Regions from separate parts of the Homo sapiens genome. Here region 2 is linked to region 1. Evidence: promoter capture Hi-C in 16 types of primary human blood cells and fetal thymus (Javierre and others, 2016). All regions are on one chromosome and are shown on one strand. Each heading gives the region's core, a stretch centred on a gene start or on the middle of the fragment in contact. The rest is flanking DNA. Distances are from core to core; before and after follow the strand shown.

Region 1 (5,430 bases), core at 2,858-5,357:
GTTTTCTATCATTCTTTTTTGGAGAACATGAGGGCATGGCAGCAGCCACTACAGCAGGAGCCTGGAGTCCCAGCTCTGGGCCCTAGCCAGCTCACCTGCATATGAGGGATTAACTCTCAACACTGCTGGATCTGGCTCAGGTCTGAGTTCCTCACCTCAGCTCCACCATGTAGCCTGGGGTGAATGGCAAACCCATGGAAAGCGTTTAATTATAGCTTCTATGTACCATCGGGTAGACTCAATTACCTAATCCCGAGAAAGCAGTTTTAGCCAAGCCTTATGTTGTGAACTCTTTCAGAGGCCACCTGGGCTCTTGCAGGGGAACTGTGTCTAGTTCTTACCAGTGGAAGTCAGACTTTTTTCTTTAACCAGAGATTTGTGTAAATGGGAGACTTTGTTAAAAATATAACAGATTTATCAGAATTTATGGCTTAAAAAATTGCAGCACAGGGAGGGAAATGATGGTGTTTATTCTAGTGACCATTTCTGTCCATTAAAACTGAAATTCTTTTTTTTTAATCTTTTTAAAAACTGTGTTTTTTTTTTTGAGACAGAATCTCGCTCTGTTGCCCAGGCTGGAGTGCAGTGGTATGATCTTGGTTCACTGCAGCCTCTGCCTCCTGAGTTCAAGTAATTCTCCTGCCTCAGCTTCCCTAGTAGCTGGGATTACAGGTTTCCGCTACCACACCTGGCTAATTTTTGTATTTTTAGTAGAGACGGGGTTTCACCATGTTGGCCAGGCTGGTCTTGAACTCCTGACCTCAAGTGATCCACCTACCTCGCTCTCCCAAAGTGCTGGCATTAGAGGCATAGGCCACGGTGCCCAGCCTAAAAACTTTATGTTTGTTTGTTTATTTTATTTTATTTATTTATGTATTTTTCTGAGAGAGAATCTTGCTCTGTCTCCCAGGCTGGAGTGCAGTGGTGCCATCTTGGCTCACTGCAACCTCGGCCTCCTGGGTTCAAGCGATTCTCCTGCCTTATCCTCCCAAGTAGCTGGGATTACAGGCGCCCACCACCACGCCTGGCTAATTTTTGTATTTTTGGTAAAGACTGGGTTTCACCATGTTGGCCAGGCTGCTCTAGAATTCCTGACCTCAAGTGATCCGCCCACCTCGGCCTCCCAAAGTGCTGGGATTACAGGTGTGAGCCACTGCGCCCAGCCCTAAAAACTTTATTATGGAGGATTTTATACCCATACAGAATTAGGATTGTATAGGGAAACTCTATGTCTCCATCACTCAGGCCCAATATCCATCAACCTTTGGTCAATTCTGCCCCATCCTCCTCCCCATCCCGTTTATTCTGAAGCAAATCTCAGGAATCATATTATTTCACTCGTAAATGTTTCAGTGTCTAAGACAAGAAATTTAAAAATCATACCTCAAAAAATTTCTTAATATCAGATATCCTGTCAGTGTTCAAATTTCTACTCATCTCAATTATCATAAGTGGTTTCTTTTTTTAAAAAATCAGAATCTAAATAAAGCTCAGACATTGCAATTGGTTGATGACTTTTAAATCTCTTAATTTATCTCCACCCTCACCACTTGCTACTTACTTGTTGAAGAAACCAGGTTGTTTGTAGATTTTCCCCATAGTCTGGATTTTGCTGATTGCATCCAGAACTGGAAAGTGTGAAAGCATATTAGAGGAAATGAAAAGGCTCTGCCGATCGAGAACTCTGGTTATACAACTGTTCACAAGCACTTAGCAGGAACAACGAGGAATGCTAAAATTCTTATCACTGTGCCCTCTTATGTGGTGCCTGCCTCATGGTGATCTTAATGTTCTCCTAAAGATAGGGAAGAACAGGACCCTAGACCACAGTCTTGTGCTTGGGAGCTACACTTGGACAGGAATCACCACCCAAAACTGGCAATGCAGACAGATTACATGTGTTTTCTTCCGCAGATTTGTTCTGATCTCCCCAGACATCCGTCATTCTATAATCCTACAGTTTGGACCTTCTTAGTTTTCACTTTCAGGTGGGAAAGACTAGTAATTAATTAATTAATTAATTAATGCTTTTATAGAGACAGGGTCTGGCTCTGTCACCTAGGCTGGAGAGTAGTGGTTGCAATCACAGCTCACTGCAGCCTCAAACTCCTGGGCTGAAGTGATACTCTCAACCCCAGCCTCCTGAGTAGCTGGAACCACAGGTGTGCACCACCATGCCCAGCTAATTTTTAAAAAAAAATTTGTAGAGATGGTGTCTCCCTATGTTGCCCAGGCTGTGTTGAACTCTTGGGCTCAAGTGATCCTCCCACCTCTGCCTCCCAAAGTGCTGGGATTACAGGCTTGAGGCACAGCACCCAGTCAAGAGGTTTTTGGGTTTTGTTTGTTTTTTGAGACGGAGTCTCACTCTTGCCCAGGCTGGAGTGCAGTGGAACAATCTTGGCTCACTGCAACCTCTGCCTCCCGGATTCAAACAATTCTCCTGCCTCAGCCTCCCGAGTAGCTGGGATTACAGGCGCACACCACCATACCTGGCCAAGAGTAGTTATTTTGGAAAGAGAGACGTTTCAATCTTCAGAACATATCTTTGGCCGGGTGCGGTGGCTGGTGCCTGTAATCCCAGCACTCTGGGAAGCCAGGCTGGGAGGATCACTTGAGCCCAGGAGTTCAAGACTAGACTGGGCAAGCAACATGGTGAAACCCCATCTCTACAAAAAAATACAAGTATTAGCCAGGTTGTGGTGGCATACCCTGCAGTCCTAGCTATTTGGGAGGCTGAAGTGGGAGGATCACTTGAGCCTGGGAGGTTGAGGTTGCAGAGAGCTGTGATTGTGTCTCTGTACTCTACCCTAGGCAATGGAGCAAGACTCTGTCTCCAAAAAAAAAAAAAAAAAATTTATCTTTGAATTCTTTCTTTCAATATATTGTTATCTGTATTTCTGTACTGAGTGCTGTGCTTCTTGACCTGTCTCTGCCCTTTTCTGTGTATTTATTTATTTAATTGACAAGTAAAAATTGTATATATTATGGTATACAAATACAGCTTGATGTTTTAATTTATGTATACATTGTGGAATTATTAAGTCAAGCTATTTGACTTAATTGCCCCATATACTTGTCATTTTTTGGGGGTGATAAAGACACTTAACATCTACTGTCTTAGCAATTTTCGATACACGATATATTGTTATTAACTATAGATAGCATGCTGTACAATGGGAGCTCTTAAACTTATTCCTCCTGGGCCAGGCGCAGTGTCTCACGCCTATAATCCCAGCACATTGGGAGGCCAAGGTGGGCGGATCACTTGAGGTCAGGAATTCAAGACCAGCCTCACCAACATGGTGAAACCCCATCTCTACTGAAAATACAAAAATTAGCCAGGCTTAGTGGTGGGCGCTTGTAATCTCAGCTACTTGGGAGGCTGAGGCAGAAGCTTGAACCAGGGAGGTGGAGGTTGCAGTGAGCTGAGATGATGCCACTGCACTCCAGCCTGGGTGACAGAGCAAGACTCTGTCTCAAAAAAAAAAAAGAAAAAAAGAAATGCTGTGAGGAATTATTAGCCATGAAGCTTCAGCAGGCAGGTTAGGTAGCTTTTCCAGTCACATACTGGTGAAGTAAGGATTTGAACCCCAAGACTCTGGTGCCAGAGTAATTGCTCTTCACCATGAGGAGGCACCAGTGGGGGAGTGTTGGATCACAAGCAGTTTCTTTTTCTTTTTTTTTTGTTTTTTTGAGACGGAATCTGGCTCTGTCACCTAGTCTGGAGGGCAGCGGCGAGCTCAGCTCACTACAACCTCTGCCTCTCAGGTTCAAGCGTTCTCCTGCTTCAGCCTCACGAGTAGCTGGAATTACAGGCGCCCGCCACCATGCCTGGCTAATTTTTATATTTTTAGTAGAGATGGGGTTTCGCCACGTTGACCAGGCTGGTCTCAAACTCCTGACCGCAAGTGATCCACCCACCTCAGCCTCTCAAAGTGCTGGGATTAGAGGCATGAGCCACTGCACCCAGCGCAATTTCGTTAGAGACTTGGTGCCTTCCCATTTCTTTTACTCAGCAATATACCAGCTTTAGGTCCTAAATTAAACCTCTTCCTGCTTTCCCACCTGATGAAGAAACGTGCCTGCAGTGTGGTGAGTCTGGACCACGCAGACTCAGAACAGCACTACTCACAGCAGGGCCTCTTGCTCGCTCTAGCTGCTGGGAGGAAAACGGCTTGCTAATCTCCACGCCCAGAAATTCAGACAAGAGCATTCTCCTTATCTCATCTGCACAGGAAGCAGGTCTAAGGTAAAAGATTATTTTTGTGGAAGATTCTTGCTTTTCAGTCTAGTGGTTGAAGTGTGAGCCTGGCAGGCGTTGGATTAGAGAGGGCAACAAGAGTGGAGGTTGTGAGGTGGGGGGTTGCCTTGGGGCTTCCACTCTAAAATGTGGCCTTACCTTGGCCACAAAGGGGTCGGGGGGGTGGGGGAGAGAGAGAGAGAGAGAGAGAGGGAGAGAGCAGCCTGATCATAGCTCGGAGCGTAGAGGTTCTGGTAAGTTCCTTGCCCTAAAGAACACTTAGTTCATTCTGGCTCCTTTCCTGGTGACCATCCTGGCTTCCTGCTTGGCCTTCACCTCACCTTGAGAAATTCAAGTTTCATGTTCTTGTCCAGGCCAAAGACCCAGAAGAACCTTCAAGGTGAGGCTTGGCCCCTTAGATCCACGCCGTGATTTCGCTTCTTTTTCCTGAAGCCTGCACAGATGCCAGTGTAAGCCCACTCCCAGGAAGTCACAGCAGTGGTCTATGCTCCTCCTCTTCACACTGGCCAGTGCTGGGCATGCCTGGACAATCAGCCCTGGAATGGCTGCTCTCAGCCTACAGAAGAAGAGAGGGAAGAGGGATGGAGGGGCTGGGGAGAAGTTGGTGAGAGGACACAAAATTTGGGTTAGACAGAGAAATAAAGTTTTTTTTGTTTTTTGTTTTTTTCTGAGATGGAGTTTCACTCTGTCACCCAGGCTGGAGTGCAGTGGTGTGATCTCAGCTCACTGCAACCTCCACCTCCCACTTGGCTTCCCAAAGTGCTGCGATTACAGGCATGAGCCACCGCTCCCCAGCCTCCTCATGGGATTTTTGAGGATGACATAAAGGAATACATTTAAACTGCCTAGAAGGGTGCTTGGCCCAGAGTATGTGCTAATTAACGTTGGCTACTATTATTTTCCTTCAACCCAGTGCCGGTGCAGGTCTAGAGGAAAGCATGAGGTGATACAGGGGCACCCAGAGGCGGAGTGCTCCCAGGAGCTGAGGGGCATCGGAGGCTTCCCTGGAGGACTGGCACCTGAGCAGAGGAATGGGCAGCACAGTGGCAGTGCCACGTGTGCGGCACAGATGGTGCAGAGGGGATGGGTGGGCACACTGCGGGGAGTTTAGATTTAGCCAGGGGATGGCAGGGCCTGTCCAGGAGGTTAAGTGAGGAGCTCAGGTGTGC
Region 2 (5,062 bases), core at 2,305-4,804, 1.1 Mb before region 1:
AGCAGTTTGGTAAGGACAAAGCAATGGGTGCAAAGGATTGGCTAAGGATGAAACAAAAAGTAAGGAGCAGCCAGATCATGGAAGGTCAAAACTTGTCATATTAAAAATCTGGGTGTTTATTCTAGACAAGTTATTGAAATATTTTTTAAAAGTTACATGATCAGAAAGATCATTCCAGCAGCGTTGAGGATGAATTTGGATATTAAGAGAGATCAGGCTGGGTGCAGTGAATCATGCCTGTAATCCTAGCACTTTGGGAGGCTGAGGTAGGTGGATCACCTGAGGTCAGGAGTTTGAGACCAGCCTGGCCAACATGGCGAAACCCTGTCTCTATTAAAAATACAAAACAATTAGCCGAGCCTGGTGGCAGGTGCCTGTAATCCCAGCTACTTGGGAGGCTGAGGCAGGAGAATAGCTAGAACCCTGGGGGTGGAGGCTGCAGTGAGCCAAGATCGCACCACTGCACTCCAGCCTGGGTGACAGAGACTCCGTCTCAAAAAAAAAAGAGAGAGAGATCAATTGAGAGCTGACTGCAGTAGTCTAAGAGATAAATGTTCTCTTTGATAGTAATTAAGAAGATAAATGATGACCTAAGTCTAGGAAGTAGCAATGGGAAGGGGATGGAGGGTATGACTACAAGACAGTTGTGTTATGGTGATGGAAAGAGAAAATGATCAATAATAGATCAAGGGGTTAAAAAGAACTGTTGGTGGCTTCCAGATCTCCGGTTTGGGTAACTAGATGGATAGTGCCACTCACCAAGGCAAGGAAGGTAGGAAGATGAGCAGGTTGGGAGGAAGGACAATGAGTGCCATATCAGATGAGCTGGGTGTGAGGATGCCTCTGAGGCACTAGGGTAAAGCTGCAAGTATGCAGTCTGTGGTCACACTGGCTACGTAGTGCGCTACTCCAAGAACTGCCATTCACAATGGCTACACTGTGAATGGTGTTTCCTGGAGTTAAGCATTGTGGGAGCGCCGCACTGGAGGTATAAGTTGGAGATCCAGTTTGAGGAATCACTGGCATAATGGGAACTGCTGAAAAAAGGGAATGGATGAGACCACCTATAAAAAAGGAATGTGAGAAAAAGTTCTTATCCTGAGGTCCTGTATTAGTACGTTTTTCAAACTGCTATAAAGAACTGCCCAGGCCGGGCACGGTGGCTCATGCCTGCAATCCCAGCACTTTGGGAGGCTGAGGTGGGAGGATTACGAGGTCAGGAGATCAAGACCATACTAGCTAACACGGTGAAACCCCGTCTCCACTAAATACAAAAAATTAGCCTGGCGTGGTGGTGGGCGCCTGTAGTCCCAGCTACTTGGGAGGCTGAGGCAGGAGAATGGCGTGAACCCGGGAGGCGGAGCTCATAGTGAGCCAAGATCGCGCCGCTGCACTCCAGCCTGGGCGACAGAGTGAGACTCCGTCTCAAAAAAAAAAAAAAAAAAAAAGAACTGCCCAAAACTGGGTAATTTATAAATAAAAGAATTTTTATTGACTCACAGTTCCGCATGTCTGGGGAGGCCTCAGGAAACTTAAAATCATGGTAGAAGGGGAAGCAGGCACATCTTAGATGGCGGCAGGTGAGACAGTATGTGAGAGAGTGCAGGAAAAACTACCATTTATAAAACCATCAGATCTCGTGAGAATTCACTATCATGAGAACAGCACGGGGGAAATCGCCCTTATAATCCAATCACTTCCCTTCCCCTACATGTGGAGATTACAATTGAAGATGGGATTTGAGTGGGGACACAAGACCTAACCATATCAGGTCCCTATACCCGACTCGTATGCAATATTTTTATCATAAATGTGAATGTGTATTTTTCTAGAAAGAAGATCTTTCGCTTTAAATATGCGTTCAGAGGGGACCATAGCCCTAATAGAGTTAAGGACTACGACTGTGAATGAGAAGAGGGTTAAAGCCAGAACCACTAACATCTAAAGGGCAAGAGAAGAACAGTCAGCAAAGAAGAGGAGTCAGCAAAGGAAGTCAGAACATTAGAACTATGGAAGCAATATCACAACTTTGAGAAGAAAATAGAATTAGATGCCAAAGAACCATGAGGATTGGATAGAATTTGGAGATTAGGAGGTTGCTGAGACGTTTGCTTGAACAATTTCACTGGAAAGTAAAACAATTACAGGTCTTAGTCACAGTGGGCTGAAAAATAAATGAGAGATGAGGAAATTGAAATAGAAAAGGAAGATACAGGGAAAAGTGCAAAAATAGAATGGAAACACAGGCTGGAACTAAATTGTGGAAAGGAAAGTTCAACTTTTTCCAGTGAGTATCACTGTGCATACACATGTTAAGTAAACTAAATCTCAGCATGACTGTCTTTAGTTAAGCCAATTAGGGAGGATAAAATAAGTGCATGTATCTGCAGCAAGGAATGGCTGCTTCACTGACTTCAAATCTACCACTGTGATAACTTGGTCCATTTATATTTTTATTCACTTCTTCCTTCAGGATTTGAGACCAGGCAGGTAACAGGGGTGGGGGGGGGGGGGTGCTGATTATTTAAAAATGAGCTAGTAAGTATGGTCAGATCTCAAAAATTGTTTCTTAATATGGACACACTGCAGACACAAAAAAACCCACCGCACTCTTGGAAAATATGCTATCTTCCATCTGCCCTGCTTTATGTCAACAAGGTATGAGTTATTTGAAACTCTAGAACAGTAGCATTTTCCTTACTGTTTCTAGGTTCAGAAACAAAGGAGAAAAATGAAAACTGCTTTAATGGGTGGCGGACGCACATTAGTTCACTACATTTTCAGTAGTCTCTAATCCAAGGTATCAGAAAACAAGATCAAAACTTTTGTGTGCTTCTCTGTTGCCAGAAACATAAAATAACATCTTGGTAATTATCTGGCTGACAGCAAAACAGGGGTCTGGGAATTCAAATGGAACCCCCAAGAGGCAAAGGAAGAGCGAATTAACATGCAAACTAGCAGCAGGGTGATGTCGCCTGTGCCTTTCACCAGGCCTAGCTGCACTCAAGGAAAGGGGCGCGCCAGCCCCTCCCCAAAGCAGGGACTAGAAGCAGAGGAGAAAAGCCATTGCAGTAAGCAAAAGGCCATAAGTTTTCTTCCATCACCTTCCGACCCAGCCTGTTTTAAGAAAAATCTTACTTAAGCACAACAGAGCTTTATACATGGTTATTTTTTCTCAACGTTTTAAGTGACCGGAACCTCTGATGACAGTAATCGCTCAGCATCCCTCACTCCTGCTCACTTCCTCTTCCTGCACGCCTCGGAGGGGAAACTTTGGGACCTTCCGGCACAACAGCTGAATCACTCGCGGTCTGGGGAAGAGCCCAGGGGGAGGAAACACGCGCCAAGGAACTTTAAATCTCCCTCCACTACTTTCGCCAGGGATGCAGGGACGCAGGATCTGCCCGGAGCGCTGCTACCCACCGTCGCCGCTCGCGACCAAATCCCGACTCCTCGCTCTGCGCCTCTTAGCCGCGTCGCAGCTGCAGTGTCAGCAAGTGCAGCCTCAGCAAGCACAACCGCTACCTAGACGGCAACCTGACAGTTTCAAACTGCAGGGAGGAATTAAGGACCGCCCTGGGCATTGGTCCTTTGTTTCAGCAATCTGCCGTTTGATTGGTCCGAGAGCTGGGGGCGGGGATTTGGGCCGCTGCCGGGAGAAGCCGGAATTACTTTGGAGAGCCCCGCCCCCTGGCTCCGCAGGTTGGTAGGGGGCGGGGTCCTAGGGAGCCCCACCCAGCGCCCGTGGGGATTAAATATTGCGCGTGCTCAGTTCTGTTCAGCGGCTGCAGGCTGCTAAGCGGCTCCGGGAGCTGATTTGGATAGAGGCTGTTGAGCAGGGCTGAAGTTGGCTAATGCCGTGTGCTGTTGGCTTTCAACAATTCCGGTAACCTAGATATGAGTCCTAATGCTTTCGTCTGCATAAGAACAATCCGAAATTCTGGGCCAGGTGTGGTGGTTCATGCCAGTAATCCCGGCACTTTGGGAGGCCGAAGTGGGAGGATCGCTTGAGCCCGGGAGTTCGAGACTAGTCTGGGGAACATAGGGAGACCCTTTCTCTATAAAAAATTAAAAACAAAAAAAAAATCTGCATCATCCACAGATCCCCTGCAACAGAATCACTTGGAGGTGCTTTTTTTTTTTTTGAGATGGAGTCTTGCTCTGCCGTCCAGGCTGGTGTGCAGTGGCACTATCTCGGCTCACTGCAACCTCCGCCTCCCAGGTTCAAGGGATTCTCCTGCCTCAGCCTCCCGAGTAGCTGGGATTACAGACGACCGCCACCACGCCTGGCTAATTTTTGTATTTTTAGTAGAGATGGAGTTTCACCATGTTGGCCAGGCTGGTCTCGAACTCCTGACCTCAGGTGTTCCGCCCACCTCGGCCTCCCAAAGTGCTGGGATTACAGGCGTGAGCCACCACGCCCGGCCGAAGGTGTTGATTCCTTCGGTCATGGACACCGTCAGGAAATCTGAATTTTTAACACACACTGCCAGTGATTCTGATGCAGGAGTCTGCAGACCACCCTTTGAGAAATTGCTAGTCTAGGCTGGGCGCGTTGGCTCACGCCTGTAATCCCAACACTTTGGGAGGACGAGGCAGGCGGATCACCTGCGGTCAGGAGTTCGAGACCAGGCTGGCCAACATGGTGAAACCCCATCTCTACTAAAAATACAAAAATTAGCCGGGTGTGGTGGCTTACGCCTGTAGTCCCAGCTACTCCGAAGGCTGAGGCAGGAGAATCCCTTAAACCCAGGAGGCAGAGGTTGCAGTGAGCCAAGATATCGCCACTGCACTCCTGCCTGGGTGATAGTGAGACTCTGTCTCAAAAAACAAAGAAAAAACCAAAATTGGTAGTCTAGTTTTAACTAATCTCAAACGTGTCAGACTTCAAGATAGAGCCTTCTGGTGAAGTATTGGCCTTAGAATCAGATCATAATTATAATCTAGCTTTACCATCTACTCGCTGTCACCTTGGATAATACTACTCACATACTAAGGTGGTAGGAGATTAAAGGAATTAATATATCTAAAACACCGAACACACAAACATATAGTCTTTCAA

What was found. Contacts are between HindIII fragments. The CHiCAGO score rates a contact against its expected background, and 5 or more counts as called.
Region 2: a contact is called between the fragment with the promoter of POC5 here and the fragment with the promoter of S100Z in region 1, in 4 of 17 cell types (total CD4 T cells, neutrophils, activated CD4 T cells and 1 more). The highest score is 7.2, in total CD4 T cells.

The regions. Positions count from the first base shown.
Region 1 is chr5:76,845,907-76,851,336 of GRCh38, forward strand. It overlaps S100Z (S100 calcium binding protein Z), which reads left to right and starts at 4,108. Exons shown (of 5, transcript NM_130772.4): 1 at 4,108-4,249. The HindIII fragment of the contact is 3,987 bases long and covers 3,528-5,430 here.
Region 2 is chr5:75,713,883-75,718,944 of GRCh38, forward strand. POC5 (POC5 centriolar protein) reads right to left here and starts at 3,555. Exons shown (of 12, transcript NM_001099271.2): 1 at 3,424-3,555. It overlaps LOC441087 (a long non-coding RNA gene), which reads left to right and starts at 3,550. Exons shown (of 3, transcript NR_149046.1): 1 at 3,550-3,702. RefSeq lists an enhancer at 2,951-3,260. The HindIII fragment of the contact is 9,196 bases long and covers 1-5,062 here.